Regions from separate parts of the Homo sapiens genome. Here region 2 is linked to region 1. Evidence: promoter capture Hi-C in 16 types of primary human blood cells and fetal thymus (Javierre and others, 2016). All regions are on one chromosome and are shown on one strand. Each heading gives the region's core, a stretch centred on a gene start or on the middle of the fragment in contact. The rest is flanking DNA. Distances are from core to core; before and after follow the strand shown.

What was found. The method cuts DNA at HindIII sites, captures the fragments that hold promoters and counts their contacts. A CHiCAGO score of 5 or more calls a contact.
Region 2: a contact is called between a fragment that was not itself captured here and the fragment with the promoter of SHROOM3 in region 1, in 1 of 17 cell types (non-activated CD4 T cells). The highest score is 5.3, in non-activated CD4 T cells.

Annotation. Positions count from the first base shown.
Region 1 is chr4:76,433,685-76,439,467 of GRCh38, reverse strand. SHROOM3 (shroom family member 3) reads right to left here and starts at 4,239. Exons shown (of 11, transcript NM_020859.4): 1 at 3,248-4,239. The coding sequence starts at 3,415. The HindIII fragment of the contact is 11,529 bases long and covers 1-5,783 here.
Region 2 is chr4:77,441,945-77,448,217 of GRCh38, reverse strand. No RefSeq gene overlaps it. Among named protein-coding and RNA genes, the nearest start is that of CXCL13, 160 kb to the left of the region's middle. The HindIII fragment of the contact is 2,301 bases long and covers 1,213-3,513 here.

The sequences.
Region 1 (5,783 bases), core at 2,990-5,489:
GGTAGGCAAAATAATGCCCTGTCTCCCCTAAGATGTCTGCATTCTAATCCCTGAAACCTGTGAATATGTCAGGTTATTTAGTAAGGGTGAATTAAGGTTGCAAATACAATTAAGGCTATTAACCAGCTGATTTTAAAATAGAGAGATTATCCAGGATTATCCTGGTAGGTCCAAGGTACTCACAAGAGGCCTTAAAAGTGAAAGAGAGAGGCAGTCAGAGGTCAGCTGCAGGGTGAGAAGGACTCAACCTGCTGTTGCAGACTTTGAAGATGGAGGAAGGGGACCATGAGCCAGGGAATGTGGGCAGCCTCTAGAAGCTAGACAGGGCAAGAAAACACATCTTCCCCTAGAGCCTCCAGCAAGGAACACAGCCCTGCTGACACACTGACTTTAGCTCAGTGAGATCTGTGTGAGGTGTGTCACCTACAGAACTGTAAGTTGTGTTGTTTTTAAGCCATAAGTTTGTAGTAATTTGTTACAGCAGCAATAGGAAACTAATACATGCCCCACATGGAGGTCTGCCTGGCATCCTCATTGGTTCTGTTTGGTCTTTTGCTTATTAATTCAGTAAAAGTTATTGAGTGCCTACTCTGTGCCAGGCACTGTGCTAGATCCTGAAAATGCAAAATGAGTAAGACACAGCCATGCCCTTTCATATACTCAACAAACATTTGTGTACCTAGGCTCTGATTTAGATGTGATAGAGATGAAAAAAAAAAAATAGTCCCTGCCCTAAAAAGGCTCACAGACTTCTGAGAAGGCAATCAACGAAATAAAATTTTATGATTCAATGTAATACATGCATAATATGGAAGTGTAGAAGGGAGACCACGGAACTCAACTTGGGTGACATCAGGAAAACCTCAGAGAGAAGAAGAAATGGAGCTTTAAAGAGTTTGCCAGACAGACAACATGGGGGAAGATGTTCAAGAGCTTCGGAACAGTACGACTCTTGGAATGCAACAAGTGCAAATGAGGAACATTTAAACAGAGTTTAAAATTTTTTACTTCATTTTAGTTACCTTTAATTGAAATAGAAATAGTCACATGTGACTGTGGGCCACCATATTGGACAGAGCACATTGGACCAGATTGGATCCTTGAAAGAAAGGAGATTGCCTTCTCTTTTCCCTCTTCCCTGCTTCTTACTGACTGGAAAGCAGATGTGGTGGCAAGTCACTTGGACCATGAAGATGAGATATCACTCCAGGATGGAAGTAAGAAAATAGAAGGAACTTGGGTCCCTGACATCATAGAGCCATCTTTTGGTTTGGCTTATGCTCAGACTGTTATGTCAGAGAAATAAATTCCTATATTATTGTTATTTTGGATCTTTTTACAGCAGCCAGACCTGTCTCCTACTACACATGTCTGCTAGAATAATGAAAAGCAATAATCATAATCTTTGCTCCTTCTGTGTACTAGACACTAACCTAAATGCATGGTTGCATTTAAACACAACCCATTAAAGTAGATAGTAGGATAGCCCCATTCTGCAGGTAAAATGGAGGCTTAGAGAAGCTGGCTCATTAGTGGGAGGATTAGACCTTTCTGTCAGCAAACTGTCAGATACTGTAGTGTATAGATACAGAATATTTTATCATTAAGGGACAGGCAAATTGTGTACAACTAGACTTTTTAAATGCCGAGACAATATTTATGTTCATTGCAGAATTATCTGTTATTCAGCAACCATGCCCTCTTTCTTCCTGCAAAAAGAACCTCAAATCATTCAAACAGTGGGCAATGATTCCTTGACTTCAGGAAGAGTAGGTCCTTATTGTAGAAACCTGTGAAAGAAATCCTAATCAGTCTGTATTAATCACTGGCATTTCTTACCAGTGATTGGCCTAAAGACAGGCACAGGGTACAGTTCTGGTTAATGAGATGAAAGCAAAGGTCTAATGAGAAACAAAAAGCCAAAAACCTGTCTGGAATGAAGATGCAATCAATGCTGGAGTTGTGGGATCCATCATGCAACCATGAAGACAAAGCCAACATCATAAGAATGGCAGAGTGGAGAGATAAGTGGGGTCCTTGATCACATTATTGAGCTGCTGCTCCCCTTGCCTGGAAAATCTACCTCCAAACTTCTTGTAATATGAGAAAAACAAACCCCAATTTACTGAGAGCCACTATAAACTCGGTTTTGAATTTTTTTCACAGGGGGAAGCCTTCCTAACTGACACACACATATGCACATCCTTTTGTTTTACTTAAGAAAGTTAAGGAAAAGTCATACAACTTATAATGGTGTCCCGTGCACTCGTGGCTTATCACTGTGAAACCCAGTTCTCCCTGGCTCATCCACAGTAAGAATTACTTCAGTAATTTGAAAAATAACCTTTTGGAATTATTTCTGGGGATATGAAAAGTAACCTGAACCAATAACAGAGCTCAAATGCAATCCATATTACCTTCTTCCCACCCTCAAATTAAAAATTTTTTCTCCCTTAATTACAAATGTTTCTTGATGAATGCACATGTGTGAAAAGCCATTATAATCTATTGTATCAGACTATTAAATACTCTAAAAATTTAAAAGCAATATTATAACAAGTAATGTTAATCTGTAGTTTAAGAGAAAAATAGAAATATTAACCCCAGTACATAAATATTTCATTGGTATGACTACCCACACCAAAAGATAAATGAAGAATTGAGGTATGCTGCAGGATGACTAAGGTTTAAAAAGGGATTCAAATATACAGATAAATAGGAGAGGCAGAAATGTTTTGATCTTGAGTTATGCTGAAAGCTGATTTAATTCTCCTTTCTGAGTGTGGGGAAAAAAAGCAACACATGGTATTTATGCAATCTATTATCCAGAATTATAAGCAAACTTAAAATATTTTTAGATGCTATTTTCAGTTGAAGAGAGAAAAAGCAGATATTTTTGAATGCACAAATATATACCATGCCACCATCTTAACCATGTTATTAATCTTTAATCTGATTTATAACTGAAAAGCTCATGTGGTAACTGATTGTATGCGATTTCATTCACAAAAAGAGAAGATTATCCATCAAACAGGCATATTTTTCTTCGGATTTCATAGAATAAATGAGCTAGACACATTTTTCTTTCAAATCCCAGGCTATCCAAAATATTTCTAGATAATCAGAAAGGCATGAAACAGCAAATTAAGTTATATTAAGGCAGTTCTCATTATTTTGCATTTTTGACAAATCTGACAAGTTGAAAAAAACAATTTGAATAAAGGCAATATTGGAAAAAGAAACATACCTTAGAGATGATTAATGGTTCTCCGTGCTCCAGGCCACCCTTTAGAGTAAAACCCCAGGGAGCTCCTCCCTCCAGGAATGCCTCCAGATAAATGTACCTTCCCTTGGTGGCCGTGTTAGAGTTTAATGTGGCACTAGGCTTGTGGAAGTCTTCAGTGGTCCTCATCATGCCAAACACATGATCCCTCAAGTTAAATTTAAAATGCCTGAAGCAAACTCAGGCAAGCAGTGCTTCTACAGCACAAGTTGTCCCATCCTTCAGGACACACAATGGCCAAAAGAGAGGTTTGGAGAAGCAAATTCTTCCATACGTAAAATGTTCTTCCAAGCTGAACTCCAAGATGCTGAACCAGAAGGAATTTTCACTTCAACATTTCTGAATGTAAATCCTCCTCCAGGAATTCTGGGTTCTCACTGAAGCCCCCAAGTGGTATACATCTCTACTCCGTTCGTCAAAACTTCCTTCAGTGGCGCTCTGAAGATTGCTTTTCTGAGCTTTTATTTCACACATACACACACTAAAACCATTTCTGCCTATTTTACAGAGAAAATTAAAAGCATCTTACAATATAGTAAGAAAATCACAAATACTCAAAGGAATACCTCATTTTTGATTGATTATCAACCCTTTCTTCCTCTCGGAGTGAAATTTACCATTACAATAGCCTCCTCCCTCCCCAGAAGTAGCTTAAAAAGAAAGAAAGCACTTACTATGCTTCGGCTCACTTCAGAATTTTCTAACTTGTCCCGAAGAGACAGAGAAGCTGTGCTAAAACTTTTTACTTCTTTTTTTCAACAATCAGTTCATAGTTTGTTTCTTAGGAGAGAAAAAAACTTTTGCAGGATGTAGAGAAAATGAAAAAGCACGGTAAATTAATCCTCAATGGAAAAAATATGAAGGAGGCAGCTCAGTTCTTTTCTTTGGTATTTTCAGTGATGATCAGCCACTGCTGCGGCCGCCACAGCCACTTGCCTCCTCTTGAGAGAAAGAGTAAGGAAGTTAGAGGAACATGGATTAAGGCAAAGTGAGGCATTGCAACCTTTCTGCACAGTAAGCACTGCCATGCAGAATTCAGCTCACCACAAAGACCTGACAATTCAAACAGTCTTACAGTTAATAACACGTAGGAAGTTAAAAATACTATACAGATGGCTAATTGCCAAGGGATAGAAAATAGTTCCTAGAATAGCCCCGCCTCGTACCAATTAAAGGAGAATTTCAGGGAGTGAGACATAGGCATTTGTGTTTTTAAAAACCCTCCAGGCAATTCTGCTATGCAGCCAAGTTTGAGAAGCAATGCCTAAGTGATTTGGGTAAACGTTTAAGTACATGTCAAGGTGGTGGCACAAGGGCTTTTTTTTTTTCGTTAGAAGAAAATACTACCAGTGTAATATATGAAATGGGACTTTCCAATCAAAGTTCTGCTTGTTTGACTCAATAAAAACAGGAGGTGGGTTTTTTTTTCTAGGTTTTCATTGTTATCTACTCCAAGATTGTTATCCACTCTTTAAATGAAAAGAAATCTACAATGCCTTGTGGGTAAGTACTAGGTACTCGGGAAAGAATGTTGTTCTGATTTCATGTTACCAGTGTCATTTTGTAATAATGTTATATACAAATTTAACATTCATGCTTTGTATTAAAAATTTGAACAGTAGAAGATAACCATATCTAACCCAGAAGCCTCAGCTATTTAGTTATTGGAACAGATTAGAATTACTTCCAGGTAATATATGTACTAAAACTTTTTTCTGTTTAAAAGTATGGGATAATGAGAATTAAGTTGAAAACTGAAGTTAAAAACTACTGTGGGGCTTGATAACAATTATTTTGGTGTTTGTACTTATAATTAATGAAAGGCTGATATGGAAAGGCAGGTATATGATATCAAACTACACGATATTTAATTTACAACACTGGACAGGTATTGTTTGATTTTCAATGGTAACTTCACTTGAAGGGCTCAAAGACAAAAAAAAAAAAAAAAAAGTAAAACCTTATGTAATGGTAGTATGTGAATGGAAACATAAGGAAACCTAAGGTGTACCAAATGAAAGTATGTGGTAAAAATTGGCTGATTCTTAAGGGTAATTTACGCAATTTCTATTGTGGTTTTCTTTTACAGCTTAATTTGTAAGTTAGAATAAATGGAGAAACATTAGCTTTTCTTTCATTTCAAAGAACATATGTATTTTAAATAAAAGTCCTAGGTAAATGAACAGCTTTCTTTCTGAAAAAATTAATTTATGAGGCTCTTATTATGTTACTCCTAATACATTTTGTAAAAACTGGGATTTTACAGAATCCACATTTAATATTAAAAGTAACATAGCTATACAAAATTTCAGTTAGGAGGCATAAGCTCAAGAGATCTATTGTACAGCATGATGACCATAGTTATAACAATGTATTGTATATTTGGAAATTGCTAAGATTAGATTTTAAGTGCTCTCACCACAAAAAAAATTAGTATGTGAGGTAATAGGTTAATTCCTTGATTTAGCCATTTTACAATGCATACTTATATCAAAACATC
Region 2 (6,273 bases), core at 1,114-3,613, 1.0 Mb before region 1:
CCCAGTGAAAAGGTGGACAAGAGACTTTGTCCCTCATTGTAAGAGTAAAAAAAGTGCAGATGAAAGAGAGGTGGAGAACTGAAGCTATTATTGCATCCAATCTTAGGTTCTACTTCTTGATGACTAGAAGGAACCACAATTTCCCTTTCCTTTGAATCTTGACTTTGGCAAATTGAATGTAGAACTGACAATATGACAGGTCTGGGCCTAGATATTAGAGATCTGTGATTGACATGAGAATTGTGTCCAGAATCTAGTTAGAAGATGAGACACATAGAATAGGGCCAGTGGTCCCAGTTAAGGCCATCTTAAATTAGCTACCAGCCAGCCAACCACCAGAGTGAGCCCAGCTATGACCAGAAGAATCACTAAGCAGACCTATGATCTTGTGAGCATAGTAGATGTTTGTTTTAAGCCACTAAGTTTTGGAGTGTTTTTACATTAGTGTGGCAATAGAACCCCTTACTATATGGGTTCCTACATGGATCTTGCACATGACAAAGCCTGTTTCCTGCTACAAACCTAGCAGTCCAAATGTAGTCTCAACGTTCCCTTATCCTCTTGGGAGCTGGGCATGACCTAGAATGAGTTAATCAAATGCTTACCTATGAGACTTTGAGTGCTGCTGCATCTATTAATGAAAGTGTCAAGTCTCCAGTGTCTTTGTTTCTTGGTGTTGTTTGCGCCAGACTGACTGATGACAGCATTGCCAGCTGCATGAGATCCTAGCACTGATGCCTTCAGTTGATTCTTGGGCTGTGTTGTCAACTATCCCCCTAACATTTTCTGAGCTTGATTCCCTGTTCCTGATAATTGCATGAGCTACCCAATATCCTCTCACCTCTCATTACATTTATTTCTGTTTACAAGAGCCAGGGGGCTTTTTGTTTTAAAATCGAATGTCATTCATTTGAAACTCTTTCAAACTGATTAGCCAGGGATCTGCCGGTATGGGCAGTCCAAACTGCCACATTAGTGTAGAGAAGTTACAGGGAAAGCAAATGGGGGAGAATTTTAGGAGTGAGAATAGTATAAATGTGCAACTATTTGCCTTTCAATCATTAGATTATTAGCTCAGCACATCTCAATTACCATATTAGTATAATCAAATTAGAAAGTATCATCTAGTATGGACCTTGGCACTGGACATCAATTGTATGAAAACTGGAGTTTCACCAACCTTTTACATTAGGAGTGACCAGCATTAAAGCTTTGAATTGTGCTCATAACCTATTACATTCTTAGATTTGTGGTTTGTTAAGTTTGACCGCTCTCACACTGTCTTGTAAAGAAGTTCAGAATCAAATATTAGCAGTGTGGCTAAATGCCTTCTATTGCCCCTGAGTGACGTGAACTTGGATCTCAACTCAGGAAATCTCGAATCAAATTGGATAACTACCAACTTTCCTATCCCTGGGCAGCCAGTTGTCTCCCAATTAGTTTGAGGCTCAACAGAACTAGGACCCTGGATAAGTTTCAGCTGGCATCTGTTCAGTCTTTAAATTTCTCAAATCCATCATGTCTTATTCCATCATTCATGCCCTCATTTCTCATCCAGGTCATTACAGTAACTCAAGCGAATATTGAAGTCAGAGAGACCAAATTTATAACAGGGGATCAGCCTTCTGTGATGTGATCCTGCTTACCTCCCATTGCAACTTCTACCAATCCCAGGGTAGGAAAAAAGATATTTGCCTGAATATATCAGTGACTTTCAGAACACCGAGCCCCCGCATGTGCTGTTCTCTATGATTTGAATGCCCTCCAAGATAAACGTCTACTCACCCTTCAAATCTCAACTTAAGCATCACTCACTGTGAATCTCCAAGTAGAGTTGATAATTCGCCTCTTGCAGCTGTATCTATTTAACCCCATTCTCCATCACAGGGCATTGATTTCCTTCTTTTGTTCAGAGTTATTTTCTATCCCTATGGCATAGGCTACTATACTAGAGTACTCAAATTATATCTATGGACTACCTTGGAGGAGCAAAACAAAAATCCTGCAGTCCCAGGAGGTCAACTCTGTCCCCTGCACACAAAAATTGTGTTCATTCTGCCAAGAAAAATGTCCCTGACATTTAAGAGCCATACTTAGAAAAAGAATGACAAAAACATGACAATTACTGCCTAGGCTTTCAACCATTACTCAAGTAGTCTATCCATCACACTAATAAAGGAAGAGCCCTTTCTTCCTTGTTAACCATGTAAGCTGAACAGCAGCTGACAGGGCATCATGGAAATTTTATGATCCCTGATGACAGTTATGGTTTGAATCTGGCCTTAGATAGATTTCTTGCCCTCTGGATCCCACTTCCTTGAATTAAAAGGATTGTACTGCACTCCTATGAATCTTATGGAAGTACTTCTAAAACTGTGTAAGGATAGATGTATATGCCTGTTCATTTGAACAGCTACAAGAACTAAAATTTGGGTACAACAAACTATATGGGAAGGGTTAAAAATTATACAAAGTCCATAACCATCCAATTCTATGCAACATTTGAAAATATTGAACCATTTGTCCTTAGAAATCTGTTCATGATCTATTCTGTGGTCATGGAAACATGCTGAACATGTAATATAATCGAAATGAACATTATGAAAACATGTATCTACACAAGTATGTACATACTTGTGCAAAATAATGATTAGGGAAACACTCACCAAAGCCAAAGTTTGTAATATATGATGTAAGTTGGTGTGAGGGAGAGACATAAAAAGAATTAACAAGTAGCTGTTATGATTGAAATCCTCTTAAGAACACATTTAAAAACATAAACTTTAAACCTATATTGAAAGAATTATTTCTTATGAGTGACGTGGACAGGTTCTTACACCTACGGATCTCACATCCTGAAGTAGGCTATTGCCCCCAGGAAGGTAGGAGGATAACACAGGAGGTTAACTTCCAACAGAACTGAAGACAAATATTGCCAAGGTATATATGCAGTCCAACTACATGTACTCTCTAGTCGATTTTTTCCTTGAAGGCCAATGACTCTTCAGATTGCAACTATCCTCTTCTTGGATAGTGGTTTATTCTCTGATATTTCTTTGATATTTCCAAGTACTACCAGACGATGGTAGAAAAGGATAAATAGGCAACTGAAAGCTGTGGCAAACAGAAGGATCAAACTACTGAAGTACTGGCCTCTGGCAACTTCAAGATCTATTCTCAGCATGACAGAAATAAGTGATCAGAACTTGTAGAGCAGTTCTCAAACTTTTTGGTCTTGGGACCCTTTTATGCTATTAAAATGAAAAGCCCAATTAGCTTTTGGGTGGATTTTATCTATTGACATACACAATACTAAGATTTTTTTAAAGTTTGAGAACATTTAACTTAAAAATGTTAATCTCATCAAAATGTCATTTTATGAAAAAATTTCTTAAACAAAAAATAGAATAGCAACATTGTTTTATGTATTTGCAAGTACCTGGTGGATTAGAAGACAGTTGAATTCCCATACCTATTTCTGTATTCCATCTGTTGCAATGTTACTTTGAAGCTTATAAATAAAATCTAACCTCACAAGGAAATATTTTTAATGCCTTTTTAGGTAACTGTGGATATTTGTTTAATGCTATACCAAAACTCAACTGGTAAAGATGAGTTGCAATTTGGAATTAGTAGCTGTATCAATGAACATCATGCTCTCTTCAAGTCCATTGATTTATTTTTTAAATGGATTTATCTCATGTGATTTTGTACTATCATACACTGGTCATCTGGAAAGTTTGTTGGTGGAGTTATGCAGACCTTCTACATGTTGGTATTTTCATTATAAAATAGCAAAAATTCACATTCTTAATATGACTATTCTCATTACAAAAGTCTTTAATCAGAAGTTGTCAAGCTCAAGGAGGCAGATTCCAAAAATCTAAATTTTACCTGAACACAAATTTTTACCAGTGCTAACCAATACCATCAGCTGGTTTTCTTGAAGTGACTAGCTCACTTTATTCATTTAAGAAAATGTCGGTCCAAAATCCAAGTCTGAGCCACAGTAATTTGAGTAGTGAGCTGAACTACATTCTTCATGGAATACCATTTCTACTTGGAAGAATGACAATTGCACAAGTTCTTGGCTTTAAGACAGCCATCATACTTTCATAAGCAAAGAGCTTTATGTGTACTTCCCATTTCATCATGCAGAACATCAGACATGTACTTAAAAGATGCAATAAAATTAATTTTAACTGCTCCATCATGGACATTCTCTGGCTTTTCAAATTTTAATTTTACTGCAAGGTCATGGAGGTGAAGAACACAATGATTACTAGGCACCCTTTAGAGCCACCTCCTTATTTGTACTAAGTTTTACCGATGCTCTGCAGGAGCATAGTGAACTGAGGGATGTTGGATTTGTCAGGGTCCTCCAGAGACAGAAACAATAGGAAACAAATATATGGAAGGGGATTAACTAGGGGTACTGACTCATGTGTTAATGGAGGCTGAAAAGTCCCATATCAGGCTATCTGCAAACTGGAGAACTTGGGATGCTGGGAACACTGCTCTGTTCAAGTCCAAAAGCCTCAGAACCAGGGAAGCTAAGGGTGTGACTCTCAGTCTGAGGCTAAAGGCCTGAGAACTGGGGGTGGGGTGGGGGTGGTCACTGGTGTATGTCCCTGGTCCAAACACCAGAGCACTTGAAGTTCTGACATCTAAGAGCAGGAGGTGGAGGAGGAGGATGTCCCAACTCTGGGAGAGAGACTTTTTTCCTCTGCCTTTTTGTTCTATCTGGGTCCCTAGCCAATTGATTGGTACCTACCCACCTTGAGGGTGGATCTTCCCCACTCACTCACTCAGTCCACCAACCTACATGACAGTCTCCTCTGGAAACACCTCACCCACACACAGAAATAATGCTTTACCAGCTCTCCAGGTGTTCCTTAATCAAGTCAAGCTGACATCTAAAATTAGCCATCACAAGTCCACTTCTTGTCAACTTGGCACCCATTTGCATCTCCTTACCTAGCATAATGCAACTATCCTACAAATAAAACACCTTAATTTCTTCGGCAGAAAATGTAAAGTCCTTGGGTGAGCTTTACTCTTCCACTGATAGTCCACAACTTAAATACTACGCAGTAAAATACTCATATAAAATGAGTAAGTCTGGCTTGGCGTGGTGGCTCGTGCCTGTAATCCCAGCACTTTGGGAGGCCAAGGCGGTTGGATCACCTGAGGTCAGCAGTTCAAGACCAGCCTGGCCAACATGGTGAAATCCCGTCTTTACTAAAAATACAAAAATTAGCTGGGTGCAGTGGCACGCACCTGTAGTCCCCACTACTCAAGAGGCTGAGGCAGAAGAATTGCTTGAACCTGGGAGGCAGAGGTTGCAGTGAGCTGAGATCATGCCACTGCACTCCAGCCTGGGCAACAGAGAGAGATTCCATCTCAAAATAAATCAGTAAGTCCTGTATTACATAATAAAGGAATAAGAATGAAAATAAAAATTTGCTTAATATATTAATGGGTATATACATTCTTTAGAAATACTCATGACAGTCTACCGCTATATAACTGGTCATGTGGTCATAGGTGGTATTTTTAATGATCTTTCCAGGACACATTCTATATTCCCCTTGCCTTCAGCAAGTATTTCATCTGATTATGGTTCTTTACCTGGTAAGGTGACCCAAATCTTCATTCCTGAAAGTTCTGAGCCATTCCTAGTCCTGCCTGGCTAGGGTTGTTGTAATTTCCCATTGAACTTAATCATAGGGCATGGTAATACTATGACTTTCTAAGAGATATCCTGTATTCCAGAACTATTCTTCCTTACCTCAACTGCAGAGTAGCCGTCTACATATATCACCCCAGCCAACACCATTACTCCCCTCTCAGCCTGCTAAGTCAGAGGCATGAGGAGTCCAGTGTGACCAGGTGGCAGTCTTAACTTCCAGCTCAATTGAGTCATTGTGTCTCCTGGTGGACCATTCCTGCCTCTGGAACCATGACCTCTAAGCCAGCAGAGCTTAAGTCATAAGAACAAAAAGCAAACATTTTGCTAATGGGTCATTAGGGGTGATGGTGCAAATGTCACTCCCGTTTCTACCCCTTGATCCCTGGGCCTGTGAGTTCTGGCTATAGGAGAAACAGTACCACACACTGGATGCTGATTCAGAGCATATACAGCCTTCTGGAAGACCCTTCCCCAGCCCTGCAAAGTACTGTTACCTAGTTGGTACCACAACTGACTTCAAAAGGCTATTCCACCATTTTATCAAGCCAGATGTCACTGAATGATGGCAAACATGGTAAGAC